6 separate regions of the Homo sapiens genome follow, and all the other regions are linked to region 3. Evidence: promoter capture Hi-C in 16 types of primary human blood cells and fetal thymus (Javierre and others, 2016). All regions are on one chromosome and are shown on one strand. Each heading gives the region's core, a stretch centred on a gene start or on the middle of the fragment in contact. The rest is flanking DNA. Distances are from core to core; before and after follow the strand shown.

Region 1 (4,808 bases), core at 1,444-3,943, 250 kb before region 3:
AGCAATCCACCCGCCTCCGCCTCAAAGTGCTGGGATTACAGGCGTACCTGCCATACTGCTTGTATTTTCCTACAAATATATGGGGTACCTGTGAAATTTTGTTACATGTATATAGTGCTGTACTGATCAAATCAGGGCATTTCGGGTATCTGTACATTTTTGTCAAGTGTAGTCCCTCTACTCTGCTATCAAACATTGAATTTATTCCTTCTTTCTTACTGTATGTTTATACCCTTTAACCCACTTCTCTTCATTTTCCCCTCTTCCCCCTACTTGCCCCTCCCAGTCTCTGTTATGTGTCTTTCCACTCTCTACCTCCATGTGATCAAATTTTTTAGCTCATATATATAAATGAGAACAAGTGATATTTGTCTTTTTGTGTCTGGCTTATTTCACTTAAGATAATGACCTCAAGTTCCATCCATGTTGCTGCAAATAACATTTCATTCTTTTTTATAGCTGCGTAATATTTCATTGTGTATATATACCACATTTTATTTATTCATTCATCCGTGATAGACATTTAGGTTGACTTTTTATCTTTGCCATTGTGAATAGTGCTGCAATAAGCATGCAAGTATTGATTTCTTTAGAGAAGAGGCTTTAAATGAGATTGATGAATATTTTGTTTGTTTTTAGAGACAAGGTCTTGCTGTGTTGCCCAGGCTGGAGTGCAGTGGTGCAATCCTAGCTCATTGCAGCCTCAAACTCCTGGGCTCAAGTGATCTTCCCACCTTGGCGTCCTGAGTAGCTGGGACTACAGGTGTGTGCCATCACACCAGCGAATTTTCTTTTTCTTTTTCTTTGGTAGAGATGGGGTCTTGCATGTTGCCTGGGCTGGTCTTGAACACCTGGGCTCAAGTGATCCTCCTGCCTTGGCCTCTCAAAGTGCTGGTGTTACAGGTGTGAACCACTGTGCCCAGCCAAATGGATATCTGAAATAGGCATTTCTCTAGTATAAACTTCTTTTTAAAAAAGGGATTTATAGGCTGGGTGTGGTGACTCATGCCTGTAATCCCAGCACTTTGGGAGGCCAAGGTGGGCAGATCATCTGAGGTCAGGAGTTTGAGACCAGCCTGACCAACATGGTGAAACCCCGTCTCTACTAAAAATACAAAAATTAGCCAGCAATGGTGGTACTGTAATCCCAGCTACTTGGGAGGCTGAGGCAGGAGAATTGCTTGAACCTGGGAGGCAGAGGTTGCAGTGAGCCGAGATTGTGCCATTGCACTCCAGCCTGGGCGACACAGCATGACTCCGTCTCAAAAAAAAAAAAAAAGAGAGATTTATAGAGCGGGAAAATTTTGCTTCAGGAACGAGGCAGAAAGTCCAAAATTCCTTGTCTAGGTTGTATTGTTCTAAGTATTATAAATTGAATTGTTGTTTAATTCAGTGGACTATAGAGGGCAGTGTTTCACAGTTTAAAGTTACTGATTTTTCTGTGAAACTAAATACACTTCAATTATGCTTATTTTGTGTATTTCTCTAATAGACACACAATAAAAACTATAAGATTAGAAATTATTTTTTAGCTGTACTTAATAAATAAAAATACATTTTAATGTAAAATTATAATAATTTCAATAAAGATAATCTTATTATCTTTACATCCCAAAATGATGTACTTTTGGGATAATAGATTAGAATTAAAAATGACTTTGTTTTCTTATTCAATCCATGTAAGTTAAGAAAAATAAGCATCATATGGTGATCTAAATTTATTAGAAAATTTAGAGAAAATTAGTATCCTGTGCAACTAAAATTTTCTTTTGCAAAAGAATTTTTTTTTTTTAAAGAGATGGAGTCTCACTATGTTGCCTAGGCTAGACCTGAACTCCTGGGCTCAAGTTATCCTCCTGCCTCATCCTTCCAAGTAGCTGGGACTACAGGTGCACACTGCCTTGCCCAGCTTGCAGAAGACTTTTTTAAGACTTCTTATTTGTGCATTAGAGCAGAATAAGCTTTTTGCAGATACAACAGTTACACATTTTAGTAGATTAATTGAATTATGATGTTAAAGCTATAGCTAAAAGAAATAATCTAGAAATAGTTTCTTTCCTGATTTTAATAAAACATTTCTGACTTATTTTAGTAAAAAAGTAACCTGTGTGTATTAGTTGGGAATTAAGAACTAGAACTGCATTTTATCTGTTTTTTAAATTATAAGGAGATTATTTTTTCTACTGAAAAAAAAATTCGTTCTAATGATAAACTCTATTATGACATGTTTTGTTACTAGGAACAGAGATTGATTATATTTTGGGCCAAATTTATTAACCTCCATATAGAGGTAATTTTCAGTACAGAAAAGCATGGTGTGTTATTAAAAACATTTAATGGTCTATCCTACTGACTTTATAAAGAGTTATGCAATATTTAGGAACTGTAGGATTCTTAATGCTTGTGTGTATGCTCTTATATGTGTGTATGTGTTTGTTAGTGGTCCCTGTTTGTGGTTTAAAAATGTATAGCAGTCCTCCCTGATCTATAGTTTTGCTTTCTGAGGGGTTTCAGTCACCTGAGGTCAACGGTGGTCCAAAAATATTAAGTGGAAAATTCCAGAAGTAACCAATTGATAAGTTTTAAATTGCATGCCCTGTTGTGATAAAATCTCTCCTGTCCCACTCCATACATCCCTTTGTCAAGATGTATCCATTACCTGTTCCTGTATAGGAAAAAACATAGTGTATATAGGGCTCTGTAGTGTCTACAGTTTCAGGCATCTACTAGGGGTCTTAGAATACATACCCCATGGATAAGGGGGTATAATGTTATACAAAGCATTATATTGTGTAATGTTTTGGTTAGCTTCAGAGGGGAACTGGTTAATAGATATATAATCTGATATATTCATTGGATATTTTCACATTTCTTCCATCCATGTACTTGTGTTGTTTTTGAGTTTTCTTGTTTTTTTTGTTTGTTTTTGTTTTTTGTGCTTTTTTTGAGACAGAGTCTCACTCTGTTGCCCAGGCTGAGCGCAATGGCATGATCTCAGCTCACTGCAACCTCTGTCTCCCGGGTTCAAGCAATTCTCCTGCCTCAGCCTCCCGAGTAGCTGGGATTACAGGTGCCCGCCACCACGCCCGGCTCATTTTTGTATTTTTCGTAGAGACGGGGTTTCACCATGTTGACCAGGCTGGTCTCAAACTCCCGACCTCAGGTGATCCGCCTGCCTTGGCCTTCCAAAGTGCTGGGATTATAGGCGTGAGCCACTGTGCCCGGCTGAGTTTTCTTGTTTTATTTGCCAATTGTACTTTTAAATTTTCTTTTGTGATACTTGTCAGTTGAGGAAAAGAAGCATTGTATTAGCCTATATGTGTGCATAGGCAAAAACCTTTGAGTGACAACTTCATTCTTTTTTTAAAAAAAAAAAATTTAACCCATTTATGCCTAGTGTTCCATTATTGGAATGCAAAGCTTGTGGGAGTTATTTACATCCTACTGCTCAAGGTCATTGCCAAGGTCTGATTTTCACAAAAAAAATTTTCAACCTCCGGCATAAATGAGTTAATAATATAACTTAAACAGAACGTGTGAATGCTTTTTGGCTTCACATTCCATCTTTAAATAACACCATAGTTTTGCATCAGAGATCTCAAATGATTTTACCTGGGGATAAACTTCTAGTCTTTTCATTGGTATTGGTGGGATTGGGTTGCATTGGAACCAGATTCAGATTTTGGTATGTGATAGTTGTTTGTTTTGCTATTTTCCCCTAGCCATAATATATACCTGAGTGCCTAGACATGATAAATGTTATCTTCCAGTTGTCCCGTTTTTCCTTAGGTTGAATTTTAATATATTCAATAACAAATTTAGTGAAACTCTTAATAATCCATGTTGTTGATTTAAGTAAAAGGGAAAATGAAAAGTGCCCCACCAACTCTTTCTAGGTGTTATAGCATTTTCCATCATATGGTAAACACTAGGTCATTTTACTTTATTTTTTTACATGAATGTTCATAGTCGCTTTATTTATAATAACCCCAAACTGGAAACCAAAATTTCCATCAACAGGAGAAGGCTAAACAAATTATGGTGTATCTACAGAATGGAATACTAAATAGGACCAAACTATTGGTATACATAACATGGTGGCTCATGCCTGTAATCCCAGCACTTCGGGAGGCCAGGATGGGAGGACTGCTTGAGCATAAGAGTTCAAGACCAGCCTGGGCAATACAGCAAGACCTCATCTCTACAAAAATAAAAAATTAGCTGAGTGTGGTGGTTTACACCTGTGGTCCCAGTTACTCAGGAGGTTGAGATGGGAGGATCGCTTGAGCCCAGGAGGTTGAGGCTATAGTGAACTCTGATCATGCCATGGCACTCCAGCCTGGGCCACAGAGTGGGACCCCATGTCAAAAATAAATAAATAAATAAAATTCTAGAAAATGCAAACTACAGTGACAGAAACCAGATCAGTGGTTGCCCGGGGATACAAAGTAGGAATAAACAGCAGGGATTACAAAAGGGACACAAGGAAACTTTCCGAGATGGTGGATATATATGTTCATCATCTCGACTGTGGCAGTGGTTTCACCAATATACGTCAAAACTCATCAAACTGTACAATTTAAATATGCACAGTTATTATATGTCAATTATATTTCATTTAGGCTGTTAAAATAACACCACCTTTCACTGTCAAAACTATCTCAGTTTGAATGCTGGTAATATTCTATTTCTTGATCTGGATGCTGGCTTAATGGATTTTTAAATCTGGGTGTTGATTTCATATTTATTCAGTTTGTGAAAACCCACTTAAAATATGTACATTTTTCTATATACATGTTAACTTCAAC
Region 2 (4,786 bases), core at 1,235-3,734, 220 kb before region 3:
GTTTTCAAAGGGAATGCTTCTAGCTTTTGCCCATTCAATATGATATTGGCTGTGGGTTTGTAATAAATAGCTCTTATTATTTTGAGATACATTCCATCAATACCTAGTTTATTGAGAGTTTTTAGCATCGAAAGCCTTTTCTGCATCTATTGAGATAATCATGTGGTTTTTGTCATTGGTTCTGTTTATGTGATGGATTATATTTATTGATTTGCATATGTTGAACCAGCCTTGCATCCCAGAGATGAAGCCAACTTGATCGTGGTGGATAAGCTTTTTGATGTGCTGCTGGATTCGATTTGCTAGTATTTTATTGAAGATTTTTGCATCGATGTTCATCAGGGATACTGGCCTGAAATTTTCTTTTTCTGTTGTGTCTCTGCCGGGTTTTGATATCAGGTTGATGCTGGCCTCATAAAATGAGTTAGGGAGGTTTACCTCTTTTTCTCTTGTTTGGAGTAGTTTCAGAAGGAGTGGTATGAGCTCCTCTTTGTACCTCTGGTAGATTTCGTCAGCTGTGAATCCGTCTGGTTCTGGCCTTTTTTGGTTGGTAGGCTATTAATTACTGCCTCAATTTCAGAACTTGTTATTGGTCTATTCAGGGATTCGACTTCTTCCTGATTTAGTCTTGGGAGGGTGCATGCGTCCAGGAATTTATCCATTTCTTCTAGATATTCTAGTTTATTTGCGTAGAGGTGTTTATAGTATTCTCTGATAGTAGCTTGTATTTCTGTAGGATCAGTGGTGATATCCCCTTTATCATTTTTTGTTGTGTCTATTGAATCTTCTCTCTTTTCTTCTTTATTAGTCTTGCTAGCAGTCTACTTTGTTAATCTTTTCAAAAAATCAGCTCCTGTATTCATTTATTTTTTGAAGGATTTTTCATGTCTCTATCTCCTTCAGTTCTGCTCTGATCTTAGTTATTTCTTGTCTTCTGCTAGCTTTTGAATTAGTTTGCTCTTGCTTCTCTAGTTGGTTTTATTATTATTATTATTATTATTTAATTTTTTGAGATGGAGTCTCACTCTGTTGCCCAGGCTGGAGTACAGTGGCATGATCTCGGCTCACCACAACCTTCGCCTCCTAGGTTTCAAGTGATTCTCCTGCCTCAGCCTCCCGAGTAGCTGGGACTACTGGCACGTGCCACCATGCCCAGGTAATTTTTGTATTTTTAGTAGAGATGAGGTTTCACTATATTGGCCAGGCTGGTCTCAATCTCTTGACCTCGTGATCTGCCCACGTCAGCCTCCCAAAGTGCTGGGATTACAGGTCTGAGCCACCCACATAGTTGTTTTAATTGTGATGTTAGGGTGTCGATTTTAGATCTTACCCGCTTTCTCCTGTGGGCATTTAGTGCTATAAATTTCCCTCTAAACACTGCTTTAGCTGTGTCCCAGAGATTTTGGTACGTTGTGTCTTTGTTCTCACTGTTTTCAAAGAACTTGTTTATTTCTGCCTTAATTTCATTATTTACCCATTAGTCATTCAGGAGCAGGTTGTTCAGATAGAAATGACCCCTGAAAGTATAGTCTTTCCTAGTTTTTTTAAATGTAGTTTACTGAACACATTTTTTCATTTTTCTCTGCTTTTTAAATTGAGACATTAAAATTCACCCACTGTGTTCTCCCATTTAAGTGTACAATTCAGTGGTTTTTAGCATATTCATGAAGTTGTACAACCATCATTACAATTCATCTTAGAACATTTTCATCCCCTCAAAAAGAAACTCCATACCCTTTAGCTCTTAGTTTCAGTCTCCTCATTTCCCTCAGCCCTAAGCAACCATTAATCTAGTTTTTGTTTCTATAGATTTGCCTATTCTGGTTTCAAATGGGGAATATCACATGTAGTCTTTTATGACTGACTTTTTTTATTAGTATGTTTTCAGGGTGTTCTTTCACATTGTAGCATGTATCAATACTTCATTCCTTTTTATGGATGAGTAGTATTCTATTGTATGGATATGCCACATTTTGTTTATCCATTCATCTTTTTTTGGACATTTGGGTTCTTTCCACCTTTTGGCTATTTTGAATAATGTTGCTGTGAACATTTGTGTGCAAGTTTTTGTGTGTACATATATCTTTATTTCTAATGGATATATATCCAGGAGTGGAATTGCTGGATCGAATGGTAATTCTGTGTTTAACTTTGAAGAACCATTGGACTGTCTTCTAAAATGGCTACAACATTTTATAGTCCTGTCAACAGTGTATGAGGGTTCTGATTTATTTTCTGCCTTTTTGATTGTAGCCATCCTAGTGGGTCTGAAATGGTATCTTGTTGTGATTTCAATTTGCATTTCCCTGATGACTGATGATATTGACCACCTTTTAATGTACACATTGGCCATTTGTATATCTTTTTTAAGTTACATTTCCCTTTCTTGTTGTAAGCTTGTAATCTCATTATTAGAATGAATTTATTGGTTATTTAGACTAATTTTCTGTCTCCAGATTATTCTAGCATACAGTCTTTTAGCTTCTATTGGAAGACTCTTAATGAAGGGAAATTTACTATTTGTGAAGAAATTGGCCCAATTTTTGAAGAACTCCAGTTGTTAGAAGCTTCTTTTTATATTAAGCCAAAATTTATTTCACTGTTTTGGTATCGTTATTGTTTTCTACTCTGTTATATTTTTGCTTTTTAGGCCCACATAGACGATGTTCAGTTTTTTATATGAGTCTTTCAGAAGTTTTTTTTTGTTTGTTTGTTTTGTTTTTTTGACAGAGTCTCACTGTCGCCCAGGCTGGAGTGCAGTGGCGCAATCTCGGCTCACTGCAAGTTCCACCTCCTGGTTTCACGCCATTCTTCTGCCTCAGCCTCCCGAATAGCTGGGACTACAGGCGCCTGCCACCACGCCTGGCTAATTTTTTTGTATTTTTTAGTAGAGACGGAGTTTCACTGTGTTAGCCAGGATGGTCTCGATCTCCTGACCTCGTGATCCACCTGCCTGGGCCTCCCAAAGTGCTGGGATTACAGGCATGGGCCACTGCACCCGGCCGAGTCTTTCAGAAGTTTTAAGGCAGCTTTTAAGTCTCCTCATCTCCAGACCAAATATTTCTGATTTCTAAAATTGTTCTTCATCTTCTTCACCATCAAGTCCCACTACCTTCCCAGTCATTCTTGTGTGAACAAATTTCAGTTTCTCAACACCTCTTTTAGAGTATGGCCTTTGGAATTGAACAGACTGTTTTAGGCATAGTGTGACCACTACAGAATAGAACTTTTCTCTCTTTAGAACACTATACTTGCACTGATTGTGGCTTAAAATTACCTTAACACTTCTTGCAACCACATTACAATGTTAATTATTCTTTAACTTTCAGTAAACTAAAATCCTGTCTTTTTTTATACATTCTGTTATGCAATGTCTGTTGTGTACTAAGTTCAATACTTTATGTGTACCCGTATTAAATTTCATTTTATTTTATTCAACATCTTATTCCCACATTGAAGATTTTTGGGGTGGGGGGGTCCTGAATGTGACATCTAGTGTGTCAACTGTCTTTCATTGACCCTGTCATCCGGAAATTAGATTAGCATGCTTTTTTTTTTAAGTTTTTTTTTTTTTAATTTAAGTTCTAGGGTACATGTGCACAATGTGCAGGTTTGTTACATAGGTGAACATGTGTCATGTTGGTTTGCTGTACCCATTAACTTGTCATTTGCATTAGGTGTTTCTCTTAATGCTATCCCTCCCCCTGTCCCCACCCTACAACAGGCCCCGGTGTGTGATGTTCCCCACCCTGTGTCCAAGTGTTATCATTGTTCAATTCCCACCTATGAGTGAGAACATGCGGTGTTTGGTTTGGGAGGCCGAGGAGGGCAGATCACTTGAGGTCAGGAGTTCAAGACCAGCCTGGCCAACATGGTGAAACCTTGTCGCTACTGAAAATACAAAAACTAGCCGGGTGTGGTGGCGGGCACCTGTAATCCCAGCTACTCAGGAGGCTGAGGCAGGAGAATCACTTGAACCTGTGGTGGAGGTTACAGTGAGCTGAGATCACACCACTGAACTCCAGCCTGGGTGACAGAGTGAGACTCTGTCTCAAAAAAAAAAAAAAAAAGTGCGAGTTGTAGGTCAGTGATATGTTGCTCCGTTTTGTATCCATATGGGTTGCTTGCACATTTAGTTTATGGAATGTAGATAATGAATCATAGCTTCAAGAAAGTCTAAGAAATAAGATTTTGAGAATTCTGCTTTAGAAGTTGGGATTCACAATTTCGGAAACTATTAAAATGTTGAAATAGTATTCATACTTTGGTAAGCTACAAATAACTGATGTTCACTGAACTTGTGTTGTCAGTCTCTAAATCTCTCTTTCATGAAATCATGCAACTAAGATAGTTGCATGGAGACAAAAATAATGGAAAAGAGAATGGAATGGAAACATACCAACTTTAGCAATACTAATCTATTTATTTGTGTATTCCTATTCATGTGTTACATTAAAAATTATTTATGGTATTTTAATTCTGGGAAGATGGTAGTGGCTGTAGCATAGTTTTTGAATAGTCCTCCTTCCTTAACAGAATAACTAGGATAGCATAATCAAAAGCTCTTGAGCAATATCTGTAACAAAATTAGTTGATTAGAGAAAATAGGGACAAACCACCAACAGCTACCAGATTTATATTTTAAAAAAAATGAAAGAAAACAGATTTGTGTGGCATTGGCATCTCTTTAGAAGGAAGCAGAAGGAAGCAGTAGAGTACCTATGAGTACCTTACTATCTTGAGAATGGCAGATTTCTAAAATAGCCAACAGGTAAAGCTAAAAGGG
Region 3 (4,730 bases), core at 239-2,738:
GGCCCTTACTTAAAGTAAACCCCGAAGATGTAGCTACCGCACCACTAAAGAAGTCGCAGGCGGAAGTACAACCCCTTGGCAAGCGGAGCGAGGAACTCCTTGGTCTCTCCAGGGTGCCCGGGGCGCCCTGCTGAGCGTGCAAGCCACAGGGGCAGGACTCTCCCGGCGCTTGTCGCGCGCGCGCGCGCGCGCGCGCGACGACTGGGCACCTGTTCTGGCCTCTGCACAGATTCCCTCTCGGGGACTCTCGCTCAGGAGTGAAGCACAGAGACGGATTCCCTTCGGGAAAATCTCTGCGCGCGCACACCCATACACACAGAGAGAGACTTGGGGATAAACACGCCGCGAGCTCCGGCTGTCTCGCTAATTTCGGGCGCGGGAAGAAAGCGGGCGGGCAGGCTAGCAAAGCTCCCACACACCCCCGTCTCTACCCCTCCAAACCCGAGCCACCCTGAGCACCTGCCCTCGCGTGCGCAAAGGCTGAACCCGGAATTCACAACTTGCGGTCGCTTCTCCCTCCCCTGCATTCCTAGGCTAGCTGGAATGCGCGAGCAGATTCCCTCACAAGGAGCAGTCAGTTTCCCGCGGCGCACGCGGCGGGCGCCGCGGGCAGTAGCGGCTGGGGACTCACCCGGCACGCACGCCCGGGGCGCGGGCCGCAGGGACTAAGAGTGTGGCCGGGGCTTCTCCGCCGCCAGCCCCAGGGGCGAGAGACGCGCTCTCCAACTTCCCGCCAGCTGGGGTGAAGTTGCACTAGCGGTCCTGCAAGCGCTGACCGTCACGCCGGCGAAAGAAGATTTGTGGGGACCACCCTCGCCCTCAGGCCTGGCCTACAGCTCGTACCCCTGGGTGTCCCCAAACAGCACTCTCCCCAGCGTTCCAAGAAAAGCCTTGGGCTGGAGATGCGGGGTTCGGTACTCGGCTCGCCTCAAGCATGATCCAGGAGGCGTTCACATTCGGCCCCAAACAGCCAAGAGCCTGGCCCCCTCAAACGCACTCTGGCTGGTGCCCCTGCCCTGTGACCGCCTCTGCGCCCCGGCCGCCAGCCCCTCCCGGCCCCTGAGCGGCGTCCGGCCCGCCCCGCAGCGGCTGAGGCTGCTAGCTGTCTTGTTAGAATTAAATCAGCGAGAAAGGGGGGTGTCTTACGTTGCATCGGCACACCTAGCATCTCCGGGAGCCCCTTGACAGCCCCTTCCGCGGGGACAGTCGCACTCTGCATCATCTCGGAGCGAAAGCCAGCGAGTCGCAGTCTACGGAGATCTCTCGCTCTCTCGCTCTAGCTCGATTCAGAAATTTCAAAATAATAATTAAAACCCCAAGCAGGCCGCTGGAGTCACGGTGGAAGCCGGGCCCTCCGCTTCTCAGGGAGGACTCCACAGGCTGGCCGGCCCCCTCCCCCCGCCAGTCCCCAGTCTGTTTCCAGTCCCTTTGATCTCGCTCTCCGGGGTTGGTGCACATCCCAGGTTGAGACGCTGTTGCTGCAGCTCTGGCTTTTTTCCTCTTCCCTCCCCCGCCCGCTCCTTCCCCCTCCCCCTCCACCCTTCGCGTGCCGGCCGCCCGGGAGGCCGCGGTCACCCGGGCGTTTTGATTCATTCACACTGCAGGAGCGGCCGTGACGTCGCTTTCCGCAGGGAGGCCCGCCCTTCGGCACATCCCCCAACCCGGCGGCGGGCAGCCGACCCCGGAGGGAGTGGGGGTCCCGGCGCCCCGAGTGAGGCCGGCGGGGCGGAGGGGGGCGGGGCGGCAGGGAGCGGGGCGGGGCCTCGCAAGCCGGCACCCCCCCCCCCTCCCCGCCTCCGCCTCCGCCTCCGCCCAGCCGTGGCGGGCTCGCGCCCTGGGTATAAATTCTGCTGATGGCCTGCCGCGGCAGCAGGTGGTCGGAGACGGCGGCGCCCTGGGTTTGCGGGTCTTCGTGGGTTCCAAGCCCGCGCGGCTCGTGTCCTCCTCACTCCTCCGTTCGGACCCAGGGGCGGGGCGGAGCCGAGCCGGGGCCGAGCGGGGCAGGCGGTCCGGAGGCCGGGGACGGGGCTGCGTCGCTGTGTCTTCGCCTTGCGCGCTCTCGGTCCCCGGCTTCGCTCCGCCGGACGGAGCGCGCTCCGTAACCGATGACTCCATCTATCTTCCTCCTCCTCTTTCCCCTGGCCAATTCCTTTCCTGCCGGCACTTCCCAGCCCCTGCTCTCTCTCCCCCGCGTCTGGCTGAGGCTGGGCCAAGGGACAGCCCGTACTCGGCCCGGAACGCGCGAGTCACGCGGCGGGCGGCGCCGGCCCGGGCTGGGGAAGGGGACCAGGGGCTGTGCGCGGAGGTGGCGGGACGCAGGCCCCCCGCGCGCGTCCCCGCAGACCGCGGCCTGCAGCCGGAGTCCGCACTTGCCTCCAGTTCCGCAGGGTAGGGGGCCCAAACCTCCCCGCGGCGGGGCCTCCCCGGCCGCCCTGCCACCAGTCGTCCAGCTCGGCCCTGTCTTAGGTCCCTAGAGCCCGCTCTGCCTCTCCGGCTGCCACCGCGGGTGCTTTGAACCATCCGCGACCTCGTGCGTGCAGGGCGGCAGTGAGCACACGGACGCCGGGGTTAACCAGCGAAAGGGCTTGCCATGCTTACTGTATTTACGAGATGCATGGACAGGTAGAGAAACGCTTAAAACAAATTCTCCTCAACGCGAGTTTCTGGCAGAAATACAACAGAAGGCCCAACGCTGGGACGAGGTCTCCTCTGACGCTCCATCAGGCGCTCGACGCCTCCGGGCTGCAGGCGCGGGAAGCCCACCCCGTCTGCCCCAAGACCCAGCCGCTCTCCTGCCCCCAGCCCCCACGGCATTTCCTTCCAGAAATGCAGACATACGTGTCCTTCCAGCCTAGTGGGGTTCAGCTTAGGCGGGAAGGGGGACTGTGTGCCCTCCCCAGCCTTCCAGAACCTTCCCTGCTGTTTCCCCTGGTGTCATCTCCAAACAAGGGACACCTGCTCACCTTTAAGGGAGGAGCATGGGGCGGGGGAGAATGGCCTGGTCGTCTGCGCTGCTTAGAATTTGTCTCCAATGAGGTCACAGTGACTTTTGTGTGTCCTGGTACTGGGTTGGCATCATCTCTTCCCTTGTTTACCTGCGAGGTGACTCCGCGCGCGAGACAATATACACAAGAAGAAAAAAGCAAAAGAACCCAGTGACATTTTTAGTGTTTACCAAAATGTGTTCTATAGAAATATAACTAGTAAGCAAACACGGGGAAACGCCAGCCTCATTTGCAGTGAAAAACACGCAAGACAAAACAACACGTGCACAGCTTTTTCTGTTTGTGAGATGCCCGACGCGCGGGAGGGGCATCCTAGAGTTCAGGACTGGCGAAAGGGGCTTGGACACTCACCAATACTGCTGGGTGCTTATAAACTCTTAACATCCGTTTGGAAAGAAATTTGGCAATATGTATCAAACTCATAAATTTTTCATACCCTTTAGTTTATGTAGTACTTTTGAATGTCTGTTCCACGGAAATAATCTAGAATTTTTTATAAAAGTTTCATGCGTGAAAATGTTTATTACAGTATTATGTTTTGGAGAAAAATAACCTAAATAGCCAACAAAAGAAAAGTGGCTTAGGGAAGTAGATTAAATTGTTTGGTAGTATGTTATGGAATCATGGAAACCAATTATGAAACCCAATAACATGGGGATGCTTGTGAAATACTATTTTTTTTAAAAGCACAATGCAATAGCATAGGATTATAAATATGTAAAAATCTTAGTCAAATGTAAGGGCAATGATAATACCCATTGTTGGTTAGGCTGTGGGGAAATTAGAAAACAATTTCCTAGTGGGGATTGCAAAGAGGGGAAATGTCTTCTCAGGACGTTTTGGCTACAAATGTGATGCATTTGACCCAATCTCTATAGAAATTTATCCAAAGAAAATAATCAAGAATGTTTGTGAAGATGTAGTTACAAGGATGTTTATAAGGTTTTTAAAAGGGAAAACCTAAATATCCAACAATAGGGGATAGTAAATAAGTTACAGTAAATTATTAAGTAAAATGGAATGTTATGAAGTCTTAGAAATAATACAACAGAAGAATATTTAATGTAGAAAAGGGTTTGAGATTTATTAGGAAATGTGAAAAAAGAATATGAAGCGGTATGAACTTCAGGAACTTTTCTTAAAAAAAGCATAAACACTGTACACTTAAAAATGGTAAAGATGGTAAATTATATGTATATTTTACCTCAATAAAAAATTGTTTAGGAGGAGTAAAAAAAATGCCAAAGTGTAAAAGTGGTTATCTGTGCAGTGGATATTTTATTTTATTCTCTTCGCTTTTTTCAGTTTTCTCAATGAGCACATTATTTTATAAAGCAGAAAAAAACTAATAAAATGCTTTTTAAAATATTAGGGAAAAGGTAAGGAAAGATACCAAAATACTATTCAAAAGAATATTTGGAAAAAGGTATATTAGGGAGATGTATTATGGAATTTTTTCCTTTTTCTCTTTTCCAGATTTTCTGTAAAGTGATTATTTTTCAGTAACATTAGTAAAAGATAACATTCAAATGCAGTGAATGTAAAGCATATATAGTAATTACTTTTATAATTTAAAATTATATTTTAAAAATGCTCTCTGCAGCTCCTGCTTCTCTGATTTGAACCTGCTGGGGTCCTGCCCTTTTCCCATTGCATGTCACTAGCCTGTCAGTAGGTGAGGAACAGCCTTACTGTGGTGGGGACTTATCTCTGCCCAAGACTGAT
Region 4 (4,538 bases), core at 1,840-4,339, 130 kb before region 3:
GGAAGGGAACAATAGACACTGGGGTCTGCTTGAGGGTGGAGGGTGAAGGGTGGGAGGAGGGAGAGGAGAAGAAAAGATAACTGTTGAGTACTGGGCTTAATACCTGATGAAATAATTTGTACAACAAACCCCTATGACACGAGTTAACTGTGTAACAAACCTTCACATGTACCCCCAAATCTAAAATAAAAGTTTTTTTAAAAAGGAAAGAAATGTATCCCCCTCGGATAGAAGGGGACTGCTGTACCAATACTTTAGTATTATTTAAGTCCTGGAACTTGGAGTCATTTTGTAAGTATTTGTTGACTAATGAAACAAATTTATTCATTCCCTTATGCAAAGAAATCTCTACATCTGCAAAAACATAGGCAGAGTTTCTGGGCTAACAAAAAGACAAATGCCAATGCAAAGGAAGTCTGAAAATTGTGAACAAAGATTATTAAACCAGTATTTACAGATCGAACATTTTAATCACGTTTCTATTCTGCAAAGTATGTTTTTCTGTATTAGCTCATTTTATCCTTACAGGAATCTGTGTAGCATTATCTTCATTTTACAGTTGAGGAAACTAAAGCTCAGAGAGGTTATGTGAATTGCTTGAGGACACAAAGCTAGTAAGTGGTATAACCAGGGTTCACAGCCCCCTGGTATTTTCACTGCAGATTCCACCCTTTTTTTCCTGCATTGTGTTGCCGTCATAGTTTATCATACTGACTCAGTGCTTCTAGAATTCATAGCTATCGGATGCATTTTATGAGGATATAGTAATAAGTTCCTCATATCTTCTATATTATATATAATGAAATTCATATATGTAGATGACATTTTATTCATCAGGCTTTTCCTTTCAGTGTAACTTTTAACCCATATTCCTATTCACAATTTTGTTTAATCAGTTATTTCTCTGTCATTTTTATATTGAATAGTCACTTCCTTTGCTAAGTTTATATCTGAGAATGAACAGCTGGCTCACAGTACAGTGTGAATCAAGTTCAAATTACTCTGAGTTCAGAGAACACCCAGTGTCATCTTATTTTTACATCTAACTGAATTATAGGACACTGTCAAAGTGTTATGACCTGCTATAGTAAATTGCTCCTTCTTAATGGTCCCCTGGCTACATTCTCTCTTGGTACTGCTATTAACCAGAAATTGTTGACATTTTGCACTATTGTAAGCTTGAAAACAAAAGAATTAGTTTTTATCCCCAGGAAAACCTACCGTCTTCACCATAAAGGTTTCTAAATGTCTAAGCTACCTACAACTGAATCATAACATTTTGTAGTCTAAAGTTGATGGTACCCTCAGAATTGAATTAATTCTGTAATTCTTTCAATTTTTAAAATGTCAGGCAATTCTTCCTCATTGAATTCAGGAAATTAGTTAATCATCTGCCTTAAAAGAACTAACTTGTTTGAATGTTGAACTGGTGGCTCATTGATGGTTTCTGAGATGTACTATTTAAATAAGTATGTGCATGTTATAAAATATATTTGGCTATGCCTAGTGTTGCTAAATTTTAAATGTTCTTTTAAATGTAACATTATAAGAACCAATTAATGATGAAGGAATTACACAGAATAACAAAATGCTTGCAAATGAGACCAAGCAATTTGCTTAGTTATACTAAGTAAACAGAGTAAGTTCTAGAAATGGTCAATATTGCTTTTGATCAAACTGATATACTCAGAGTGATTAATGCCTGAAAGATGGGAAAAAGATAAGAAAAAAAAGACTCTTCAAAGAAAAGTAATTTTTCCGTGAAATAATTATAGAATATGGAGCATATTTAAATATACTTATGGACCATATGCATGTATACATGTATAGAGATTGTTTATGCACAAATATCATCAGTAGAAAATTTGACGGCTATTGTGGACCGTAGGTAAACAATGAGATGGCAATGTAGTGTTGCTCTTACAAAGCAAATTTACTGCTGCCATTACAGTAATAGGAATATAATCTATAAAGGCCAGGGCAAAGTACTGTTATATACATAGCAATTATTAGGATGTAATTAATATAAAACATAAAGCTTAGATTTTTGTATTTCAAAAAGGATGTTGATAAATTTGAAGACTCCAGAGAAGGATTTTTTAAAATCAGTAGTTTGGAAATGGAGTTTTTGAGTAAAGTCTCATGGTCACAAAACAGTATAAGTCATGTGCAGCCCATAGATCTGTTTTTGTTTGACACCTGTAGTGTTAGTCCACAATTTATTTATAATTAACTGTCAGTTAATTTCATATAAAAGTACAGATTTTAGACTTCTCTTGAAAAATCTGCAAATATGGCAATCGTGGGCACGTTCTTCTATCAACTAGAGCTGAGTACCTACTGCCCTCTGTTGACAGGCTTTGAACTCTTCAGTTTCCCTGACCCAGTTGACCTCAGTCTTTTATATTTTTGCCTGAAGACTTTTGAGGAGTTTATAACCTTGTGTTTGGAAAGACTGTGTTTGGAGTCACGTTACCTGAATTCCAATTTCTATTCTGCCACTAACTATGACCTTGAATAAATAATAATTGTAAAATCTTAAAAGTAGGAATTGGCCAGGCGCGGTGGCTCATGCCCGTAATCCCAGCACTTTGGGAGGCCAAGGTGGGCGGATCACGAGGTCAGAAGATTGAGACCATCCTAGCTAACACGGCGAAACCCTGTCTCTATTAAAACTACAGAAAATTAGCCAGGCGTTGTGGCACACGCCTATAGTCCCAGCTACTCGGGAGGCTGAGGCAGGAGAATCACTTGAACCCAGGAGGCAGAGGTTGCAGTGAGCCAAGATCGCGCTACTGTACTCCAGCCAGGGCGACAGAGCAAGACTCCATCTCAAAAAAAAAAAAAAAGATAGAAAGGAATTTAAAGATCATCTGGTTCAACTCCCACCTAATGCAGGACTCCTCTCCACTAAATTTCCAAAAGATGGTTAAGCCAGCTAGCCTGTCTGAAGATTTCTGTTTACTTCACAAAATAGCCTATTCTGTTTCAGAAAGTGCTAATTATTAGAAATTTCTCCTACCTGTTAAATCTATGTCTGCTTACCTATAACTCACTCTCGTTTTAGTTCTGACTCTTAAAACTATGAAGAAAAGTTGTATCTCCTCCCTTCCAGGTGTCAACCGTTCTGTTATTTGAAGACAGTAGACATTTTCTTCCTAAGTCTTCTCCAGACTAGTTTCACCAACCTAGTGGCTCATTACTGAATCAATGTCCCTTTTTAAACATGTAACACTAAAAATGTACATTATATAAGATGTCTTATCACTGGTAGGGAACAGAGTAGAGCTGTAACTTAATAGATGTGACATCAAAGGCAAGGTGTCTGCCTTTACTGTTCCTCTTAAAGTGTAGCTTATTTGTAAAATGTGCTAGGCCATCAATAAGTGAATGGTTTTATAGCAAATCACTGTATAGATGTAGATATTATATTAGCCCAATATTAGCCAGACAAGTTATAGAGTTTCTTTGTAGACTTAGTGCCCAGTCTTTATTGTAGCATTGTTTTAAATATTTGCCATCCCTTTTTTTAAAAAGGTAAAGAAAAAGCAGGAAAAAAGGCTTAGACACATCTTGTATTCTTGTTGGTATCATGGCATTTGTCAGTGTGTTCATACTTTTTAATTTTCTAGTACTTGCCGACTTAATCCCATGAGCTTACTTCTAATATCAGTAAAGGGTATGAGCTGTCTATGTGGTTCAAGCTGCCACTTGAGGGTTTCTCCATTTTGTGGAGCTTTCTAATGGAATTCAAGGTTCTCTCTAAGGATGAGCATTACAAAGCCTTCCCTGGCTGCTGTGGGAGGAGGAAGTGCACCATAGGTTCAAGGACACATGTGAAGTTTAATGTGCACAAGCATGCTCCCGCTCCTGCTCCTGCTCCTGCTCCTGCTCCTGCTTACTCTGATTGGCAAGGTTAACTCTGAGAAGCTGCTGCTTTTTTAAGTGATTTGATTAGACCCATCACTTCATTCCTTTCAGTCCTCCCTCCCAAGGACCAAACCACCACTGTCTTTGCAGTCTTTGCTTTGCCCGTTACATTTTCTCTCCTTTTTTCCTGCTTTTTCATCAACTTTTAACATTTCGTAAAACAAAATAAGGAACTCAAAAGTAAACTAACTTGCCTCACTGAAAGCTTTGACATGAAAAATTTCCATACTTTTGTTTTCTACACTTGTAAATTACAAAACTTTTATTTCATTTTCACTTAGCTCATAAGGAAAAATAGAATTATTATTCACATTAGTTCACTTAGATAATTCCACAGTCCTCTATCAAAATTTATTTTGTACATAATGAATTCTTTCCTCACAATCGTTTTAAAAATAACCTTTTAATTACAAAAACTTCAACGAGGTACAAAAATAAAGAGAATATCTAGTTTCAGCAATTACCAATTTGTGGCCAATCCTGTTTAATCTGTACTGCTATCTCACAACAGTGGTCTTTAACCATTTTAGGAAGAATATGAGGAAAGTTATGAACACCAGAGAAAAAGGACCTACATGTTAAATTTTTGCAAAATATGTTAATAAGTT
Region 5 (4,659 bases), core at 866-3,365, 170 kb before region 3:
ATACTGAGACTAAATTTATGCAGTTATATGAGATTTGAGAAAGGAAGGAAGAAAAAATGCATCCTCTTAAATCACTTTCTATATCAGGGTATATATTATTTTGGTTATATAGTTGATTAAGATGTTAATTTGAAGGAACTTTATTCACACTAATGACTGAGAAATGCGTTACAAATTGTCTATTACGCTTATTTGCATTCATGTAGGCAGTGCCATTTAAAAATCAAGTCTATGGTCATGTGTTGCATCAGAAACTTAGATTTAATACAAAATCAGAAAATAGTGAAAGTAGCTTAAATCCTATGAGCTTTGGCAACTTATTTTGGGTATTTTTTAATTGTGGTAAAATATACATAAAATGTATCATTTTAATCATTTTTAAATCTACAGTTCTCTGTCATTAAATATGCTCACATGAGGCCAGGTGCTGTGGCTCACGCTTGTCATCCTAGCACTTTGGGAGGCCAAGGCAGGTGGATCACCTGAGGTCAGGAGTTCAAAACCAGCCTGGCCAACATAGTGAAACCCCATCTCTACTAAAAATACAAAAATTAGCTGAGCATGGTGGCACATGCCTGTAGTCCCAGCTGCTTGGGAGGCTGAGGCAAGAGAATCACTTGAACCCAGGAGGCAGAGGTTGCAATGAGCTGAGATCGTGCCACTGGACTCCAGCCTGGGCGACAAAGTGAGACTCTGTCTCAAAAATACACATATGTATATATATATTTTTTTCACATGAGCCAAGTGTAGTGGCTCATGCTTTCAGGCACAAGGAATTCTTGAGCGCAGGAGTTTAAGACTAGGCTGAGCAACATAGTGAGATCCCGTCTCGTGATAAAAAATGAATAAATAAAACAATACATTCACATGTGTAACCACCACCACCATACAACTTTTTTATCTTCCCCAATTGAAACTCTGTACCAAGCCAGGTGTGGTAGCTGATGCCTTAATCTCAGCACTTTGGGAGGCTGAGGTGGGCAGATCACCTGAGGTCAGGAGTTTGAGACCAGCTTGGCCAACATGGTGAAACCCCGTTTCTACTGAAAATACAAAAATTAGTCAGGCGTGGTGCTGCACTTCTGTAATCCCAGCTACTCGGGAGACTGAGGCAGGAGAATCTCTTGAACCCAGGAGGTGGAGGTTGCAGTGAGCTGAGATCGCACCACTGCACTCCAGCCTGGGTGACAGAGTGAGACTTTGTCTCAAAAAAAAAAGAAACTCTGTACCCATTAAACACCCCCCATTCCTCCCTTCCCCTGGCCCCTGGCAACTACCATTCTATTTTCTGTCTCTGAATTTGACTACTCCAGGTACTTCATTTAAGTGGAGTCATAACAATATTTGTCCCTTTTGACTGGCTTATTTCACTCAGTGTAACGTCTTCAAGGTTCGTTCATGTTGTAGCATGTGTCAGTTTCCTTGCTTTGTAAGATGAATAATATTCCATTGTATGCATATACCACATTTTGTTTATTCAGATATCCATTGATGGACACCTTGGTTTGCTCTTACCTTTTGACTGTTGTGAATTATGCTCTGAACATAGGTGTACAAATTTTTGTTTGATTTTTTTTCCCCAAGAATCTATTATGAAAAATGTTAAACATACAGAGAAGTTGAATTTTACAATGAACATCCGTATTTCTACCATCTCGATTCTACCATTAATATTTTACTATGCTTGCTTTATCAATATCTAGACATTCATCAAATCTTTTTTATTTTTTGATACATTTTGGAGTACACAGACAACAGTACACTTTCTTCTAAATATTTTAACATGCGTATAACTAACTAGAATTCAGTATTTGGTTTTTCTTTTAAAATAATATTTATATACAATGAAATGCACAAGTCTTAAGTACACATTTGATGAACTTTGACAAATACATATACCTGTGTAACTGAAGTGCCTATCAAGATATAGAACATTGCTGTCGCCCCAGAAAGTTTCCTCATGCCCCTTCCCAGCCACTGTTTTCTTTTAATCCCAAAAAGGTAACCACCGTTTTGATATTATTCTACCATAGATAAGTTCTGCTTGTTCTCGAACTTTATATATATGGGATTATACATATGTACTCCTCTGTGTAGGGCATCTTTCATTCAGCATAATGTTTTTGAGACTCATCCATATTGCTATAGTTCAGTACTTCCTTCTTTTATACTGCTGAATATGTTCCATCATGTGAATATACCATTGTCTTATGATGGATACCTGGGCTGTTTTCATGGCAACTTCCTATTATTATTGCTGTTAATTACCTCCTTTATACAGGATGAAATAATACCTCCCTTTCATATTCCTTCACCCTTAAGTCACTGACATTATAGCTTAGTAATTTCTTGTGAAGGGATTTTTTTTTTTTTCTTTTGAGACAGAGTGTCACTGTGTTGCGTAGGCTGGAGTACAGTGACGTCGATCACGGCTCACTGCAGCCATGACTTCATGGGCTTAAGTGATTCTCCTGTTGAGCCGAGCCTCCTGAGTAGCTGGGACTACAGAAGTGTGCCACCATGTCCAGCTAATTTTTGTAGAGATGGGGTTTCACCATGTTCCCCAGGCTGGTCTCATACTTGCCCGCTTTGGCCTTCCAAAATACTGGGACTATGGGCATGAGCCACCGCACCCAGCCAGATTTTTTAAAGTAGTGTATTCAAAATCTTTCTCAATTTCCTGACAAATAAGCAACACCATTTTCCCCTACCCTAGATCTTTGCCAGTGAAAGAGATCAAGATCCAGTAGTTGCTGATTTTAAGTGTGTATCACACATACTGGTGTGTGATTTTCTTTATAATGCTCGTAAGTAAATTATCCCACAAGCAGTCATTGGCTTCCATGCTAGGTATAATCTTGAGATGTTAGACTATCTTTCAATCTTATTCCTAAGTGCTTGAAATAACATTGTCATTTCACTATGGACAGGGAAGTGAAAGAAGGAGGCATTGTGTAATTTCTGGTGATTGCAGGTAGGGGAGTTCTCACTATGGCCAGCTGCTACAGTAGTAGCAGCAAAAGGTAGAAGATAGTACAGAGGAGATGGGGACATTACAGGTTGTTGGTAGTTGAAGTCAAGCTCTACTACAATTATAAATTGATACCCAATTTTTTTGCAGAGAGAAATTCAGATCTACCTGTTTGCAGTATTTCATTTGCTAATTAGACAGTACCATACCATATACTATATGTGTTTGATAGAATGACAGGACAACTCTTACAAATTTAAATATACCAAATTTGCCATGTTTTTATCTGTTATACGTATGGTATATGTACTTTGTATTTGATCTCAAAATATCATAAGAACATCAAGACTCATTTTATAATAGAATCTCCTTCCTTCCCTCCTCTCCCCTCCCCTTACCATTTTTTTTTTTTTTTTCTGGACAGAATTTTGCTCTGTTGCCCATGCTGGAGTACAGTGGCACGATCTCATCTCACTGCAACCTCCACCTCCCAGGTTCAGGCGATTCTCCTGCCTTCACCCTCCCAAGTAGCTGGGATTACAGGCACGCGCACCACCACACCCCACTAATTTTTTGTATTTCTAGTAGAGACAGCATTTCACCATGTTGGCCAGGCTTGTTGCGAACTCCTCACCTCAGGTGATCTTCCCTCCTCGGACTCCCAAAGTGCTGGGATTACAGATGTAAGCCACCGCGCCTGGCCAGAATCTCTTCTCTTTTTTTTAATTTTGTGATATTGAGGAGAAAAGTCTAATTAAAAAAAAATTCTACATGGTTTATGGACGAGTTACTAAGGAAATCAGAGAAGCATTTCATATATTAAGATGTGCTCTCTGTATTTTCCAGAAGGTATGAAAGTAATACCACTTAATAGGTTAGCTGCTACCCTGCACTTTCAAAGCACTTTAGAGTCATTCATCTGTCTGAGGTAGGACAGTGTTAGCACCCTTGGTTAATAGATGAGAACTCTTTTTCTCCCTGCATCTTACTGTATTTGAGTTTCAGAATTTATTCAGGGCTCTCCAGTGTTCGTGGTCTTCTGGTGGCCTAACAAAGGTTCCTTTTAATAATGGCTCTCCCTCACCAATCTCCTGAATACTTCTGGGATATTTTTCCAGAAGAGTTTTAAAAATTAGAAACAAAGAATTGTCACTTATTTTGGTAGCAATAAAAATAAATTTAACTTGAAAATTTATAAGAGATTATATCACTCATGGAAAAAGATAAAACAATTATATAGACAAATATGTAAAATAGTTCATAAATTTAGATAAAGTCTTAGAAGATATAGCTTTAATGCACACCTAAGTCATGGTTTTCCTTCTGGAGGAGAGATTTTGGAATTCTTTACCTAAAATAGTTTAATAATTGTAGTGGTCTAGGTGTGTTTGTGGTTAACAAAGAGAAAGGAAAGAAACCACAGGTGTTTATTTCCTGATTTTATCATGATTAATTATAAGGATAGCATCTCTGCAAATTACTGGTTATGTTAGTGAGTGAATAATAATCTTAAATTAGAGCATGTTTATAGGAATTTTATAATTTGAAGAAGTAAAAGGTATCACAGACACCTCATTTTGCTGGTTTTTGTTCATTTAAATATAGAGCATCTTGAAGGTTAAAATTCCAAAGCCTGATTTGTTTTGTCTGTGTTTATTTACAAGTATGTTTAATCCTACTCTTGTTTT
Region 6 (4,381 bases), core at 378-2,877, 200 kb before region 3:
CTGTCCCGTCATTCATATTAGTGTGAAGCTGGAATTCATAAGTCTTGTAGCCAACTGCAAAGTTGCTCTGGGTTACTCGGGACTTTGCAGTCTCAAAATTCATCCAGGCTGGGCATGGTCGCTCATGCCTGTAATCCCAGCACTTTGGGAGGCCAAGGCGGGCGGATCACGAGGTCAGGAGATTGAGACCATCCTGGCTAACGGTGAAACCCCGTCTCTACTAAAAAAAAAAAAAAAAAAATTAGCCAGGCGTGGTGGCGGGCGCCTGTAGTCCCAGTTACTTGGGAGGCTGAGGCAGGAGAATGGCGTGAAACCAGGAGACGGAGCTTGCAGTGAGCTGAGATCCTGCCACTGCACTCCAACCTGGGCGACAGAGCAAGACTCCGTCTCAAAAAAAAAATGCATCTGGTAGCCGGCCAGCCAGCCCTCGTAACCCAGCACCAGAGTACCCCAGATGGAAAGGCCAGCGATGTTGAAATCCGTGTCGCAGCCCAGGTTAATGTGCTTCTGCTTGTACCCTGTCTTGATTTTAGCTTTTTTTTCCCCAGTGTTAGGTGAGAAGGATGAATTGAAGGTAAGCTTCAGATCATGTGCAAGCTGACCTTCCACGGTAATCTCGGTGCCTAGTGTATTGTCGGTGTTCCATTTCTCTGTAAACGTCAGGCCGTACTCAGTCCATCTGTACTTGGTTTACAGACTGCCCATGACTTTGGTGGTCTCAATGTTGGCTGAGCCTGAGCTTGTAAATTCCAATTCATTCTCAGATTTTGTTTTCAAATCAAGCCAAATCCATAACCCTTGGTGAAGACATCCCTGGCAGATTTGCCAAGATTGGCATTCGTGGGTGGCACAGCCACCTTCGGCTTAGAGGCATTGGCAGCAGGCTCGGTTGCGGCTATGGCCTGTTGAGGTAGTTTTACTCTATTCCTAGTTTATTAATACATTGGTTTGGTTTGGAAAGACAGGACAACTCGAAGCAGTGACTTATCATAGGTAGATTCAAAGATTTTCTGATTGGCAGTTGGTTGAGAGTTAAGTTATTATCTAAAAGCTTGGAATTAATAGAAAGGAATATCTGAGTTAAGGATTTGTGGAGACCAAGGTTCTTACTATATAGATGAAGTCTCATAGGTGGCCACTGTTAGATGCAATAGATGACAATTGTTTCCTATTCAGATCTTTAAAAGATTCTTCAGATCTCTCAGCTAATCTCTTTAGGATCAGAAAAAGACCTGGAAAGGGAACAGGATTCTTTACATAATGTAAAATTTCCCTTTTAAGAGATGGCTTTGCAGGGCCATTTCAAAATATGTCAAATATATTTTGGGATAAGATATTTTGATTTCTTCCAGGGTCTGCTCTCTGTCATGTGATGCTATACTAGAGTCAGGTTGGAATTTGATATCTTATTGATACAAAGAGTCTTTTTTGTCAGTTGTGAGATCTCTGTTTTAATGTTAATGCTGGTCAGTTGTTCCTGAATGCTAAAGGGAGGAAAGTATAATGAGGCATGTCCAGACCCCGACTTCCCATCATGGCCTGAACTAGTTTTTCAGGTTTCTTTGGAGAAACCTTAGCTGAGAGGAGGGGTTCATCCAGATGGTTGTAGGGCTTAGAACTTTATTTTTGGTTTACAAGGAGATGTGTAGGGTGAGGCATGGAGGAAGGGACATGGCGCTTTCATGATCTCTCTGGGCATGCCACCCTCCAGGAACCTCCATGTGTTCCACTATCCCCAGGCTCCCAGCACCCATTCCTCTTGGGTTTCATGATGTCAGTATTCCTTCCCCTAGGGTATAGGGCAGGACTCTCTCTCGGGATTGTGACCCACAATCAGAAAGGGTAACCTGGGGCAGGTAAAAGGAGGGCAGGAGAAAGTCCCATAGATTCTCTTTCCTGAGGCTTGCTCCTGAGGCCTGACACACCTAATTATGTAACGAAAGACTGTAACAAGGGCAATAGGAGTTAGAAACCAGGAACCATGGACAAAAACAAATCTCTTTTGTGCGCACTCTCTCACTCTCGCTCTCTCTCTGTACACACACACACACACACACACACACACACACACACACACACACAGCATAACACCACAAATGCCTTTTATTTCTTGTCTGATCGCTGTGGCTTGGATACCATCTTGAAAAGAAGTGATGAGAATGGATATCCTTGCCTTGTTCCTGATCTTAGAAAGAAAGCTTTCAGTTTTCCACCACTGAGTATGTTGTTAGCTGTGGCCTTTTCATATATAGCCTTTATTGTGTTGAGGTAGTTTTATTCTATTCCTAGTTTATTTAGTGTTTTTATCATGAACACATGTTGAATTTTGTCAGATGCTTTTTCTGTATCAATTGAGATGATCATGTGGGTTTTGTCCTTCATTGTATTAATATGCTGTGTTATATGATTGATTTTTGTATGTTGAACCATCTTTACATTCCAGGAATAAATCCCAGTTGATCATGATGTATAATCCTTTTAACGTAATGTTAAATTCAGTTTATTAATATTTAGTTGATTTTTTGGATTAATATTCATCAGGGATATTGGTTTTAGTTTTCTTGCAGTAGTTTTGGCTTTGATGTGAGGATAAGACCTCATAAAATGAGTTAGAAGTGTTCCCTTTTCTTTAATTATTTTGATGTATGAAGAGGATTGGTGTTAATTCTTCTTTAAATATTTGATAGAATTCTCCAGTGAAGTGATCTGGTTCTGGGCTTTTCTTTGTAGGGAAGTTTTTTTTTTTATTACTGATTCACTCTCTTTCTTGGTGATAGGTCTGTCAGATTTTTGATTTCTTCGTGATTCAGTCATGGTAGATTGTATGTTTCCAGGAATTTATTCATTTCTTCTAGGTTATCCAGTTTTTTGGCATGTAATTGTTCATAGTTATCTCTTATGATTCTTTGTATTTCTGTGGCATTAATTGTAACATCTCCACTTTCATTTCTGAGTTATTTGACTCTTCTTTTTTCTTAGTTAACCTAGAATAGCTCATTTCTTTGTGTTGCTGAATAATATCCTATTTTATGGGTGTATCATTTGCTTATTAATCTATTTAAGGACATATTGGATTTTAGCCATTCCAATAGGTGTGTAGTGGTTTCTCATTTTTGTTTTCATTTGCATTTCTTTAATGACATGATGTTTAAACATCTTGTCACTCGCTTATTTGCTATCTCTGTATCTTCTTTGGTAAGTTGTCCATTTAGATCTTTTACTCGTTTTTCATTGGGTAACTTATTTTCTTAGTGTTGAGTTTTAAGAATTCTTTGAATATTTTGGATACCAGTCTTTTATTAGATAAGTGTTTTGCAAATTTTCTTTCAGTTTATGGCTGGTCATTGCATTGTCTGAACAATATCTTTCACAGAGCAGAAATTTTCAGTTTTAATAAAGACCTACTAATCAATTTTTTTCTCTCATGGATTATAAATTTTTTTTTTTTTTTGAGACAGAATCTTGCTCTATTGCCAGGCTGGAGTGCAGTGGCGTGATCTTGGCTCACTGCAGCTTCTGCATCCCAGGCTGAAGCAATTCTTGTGCTTCAGCCTCCTAGGTAGCTGGTACTACAGTCACGCACCACCATGCCTGGCTAGTTTTTTGCATTTTTAGTAGAGGTGGTATTTTGCCATGTTGGCCAGGCTGGTCTCAAACTCCTGGCTTCAAGAGATCCACCTGCCTCAGCCTCCCAAAGTGCAGGGATTATAGGTGTGAGCCATTGCACCTGGCCTGTCATGGATTATACTTTTGATATTGCATGTAAAAAGTCATTGCGAAACCCAGTATCACCTAGATTTTCCGCCATGTTACCTTCTAGGAGTCATTCTTTTTTAAGAAGCTATGCTTGCCACTTCATACTTGGTTCTATCTCTATTTTTTTTCCTTTCGTATCCAGTTTTCTCATTTTTAGTTTTATTTATTTAGTTATCATCTCGAGCGCCAAGTATGTTTTAGTTTTATCCTATCAATGGAACATGTATTTGGAATATAATTGGATTAAGTAAAATAAGTTCTCCCTTTGTACACGTTCCTCAGCTTATAATGAGGATACATACTGGTAAATCTATTATAAGTCAAAAATATCATAAATCGAACCATTGTAAGTTGGGGATCATCTCTACTTTTTTTTGGTATAAAGAAATACATTATCTATCCCAGAAATTCTTCATAGCATTTATTCTCTAAAAATGGCCCTCAGAGCACAGAGAAATCTGTCATTTACCTAGTGCTTCTTGTTTGCTAGCATCATACTAATACACTTTATATACTTTGTCATTTAATCATGTTAATAGTTGTCGTCTATGATTTTATAACTTTGTTTCTATTACAAGTTGATAACTGACTTGATTCATCTCCTCAAAAATTTACAACATTTTTT

The links. Contacts are between HindIII fragments. The CHiCAGO score rates a contact against its expected background, and 5 or more counts as called.
Region 1: a fragment that was not itself captured here is called in contact with the fragment with the promoter of LHX4 in region 3 in 8 of 17 cell types (endothelial precursors, M0 macrophages, M2 macrophages and 5 more); the score reaches 8.4 in endothelial precursors.
Region 2: a contact is called between a fragment that was not itself captured here and the fragment with the promoter of LHX4 in region 3, in 4 of 17 cell types (M1 macrophages, M2 macrophages, M0 macrophages and 1 more). The highest score is 6.7, in M1 macrophages.
Region 4: a fragment that was not itself captured here is called in contact with the fragment with the promoter of LHX4 in region 3 in 1 of 17 cell types (neutrophils); the score reaches 5.3 in neutrophils.
Region 5: a fragment that was not itself captured here is called in contact with the fragment with the promoter of LHX4 in region 3 in 2 of 17 cell types (neutrophils and M2 macrophages); the score reaches 6.7 in neutrophils.
Region 6: a contact is called between a fragment that was not itself captured here and the fragment with the promoter of LHX4 in region 3, in 4 of 17 cell types (neutrophils, M0 macrophages, monocytes and 1 more). The highest score is 7.0, in neutrophils.

The regions. Positions count from the first base shown.
Region 1 is chr1:180,474,963-180,479,770 of GRCh38, reverse strand. All of the region lies in intron 3 of ACBD6 (acyl-CoA binding domain containing 6), which reads left to right. Among named protein-coding and RNA genes, the nearest start is that of ACBD6, 25 kb to the left of the region's middle. The HindIII fragment of the contact is 1,459 bases long and covers 1,964-3,422 here.
Region 2 is chr1:180,448,695-180,453,480 of GRCh38, reverse strand. The region is part of intron 3 of ACBD6 (acyl-CoA binding domain containing 6); the gene reads left to right. Among named protein-coding and RNA genes, the nearest start is that of MIR3121, 13 kb to the right of the region's middle. The HindIII fragment of the contact is 171 bases long and covers 2,399-2,569 here.
Region 3 is chr1:180,227,022-180,231,751 of GRCh38, reverse strand. LHX4 (LIM homeobox 4) reads right to left here and starts at 1,488. Exons shown (of 6, transcript NM_033343.4): 1 at 1,147-1,488. The coding sequence starts at 1,222. RefSeq lists a silencer at 1,918-2,047. The HindIII fragment of the contact is 8,200 bases long and covers 1-4,730 here.
Region 4 is chr1:180,363,048-180,367,585 of GRCh38, reverse strand. The region is part of intron 6 of ACBD6 (acyl-CoA binding domain containing 6); the gene reads left to right. Among named protein-coding and RNA genes, the nearest start is that of MIR3121, 73 kb to the left of the region's middle. The HindIII fragment of the contact is 2,097 bases long and covers 2,041-4,137 here.
Region 5 is chr1:180,400,517-180,405,175 of GRCh38, reverse strand. The region is part of intron 5 of ACBD6 (acyl-CoA binding domain containing 6); the gene reads left to right. Among named protein-coding and RNA genes, the nearest start is that of MIR3121, 36 kb to the left of the region's middle. The HindIII fragment of the contact is 7,851 bases long and covers 1-4,659 here.
Region 6 is chr1:180,431,276-180,435,656 of GRCh38, reverse strand. The region is part of intron 3 of ACBD6 (acyl-CoA binding domain containing 6); the gene reads left to right. It also overlaps the pseudogene VDAC1P4. Among named protein-coding and RNA genes, the nearest start is that of MIR3121, 4.9 kb to the left of the region's middle. The HindIII fragment of the contact is 1,147 bases long and covers 1,054-2,200 here.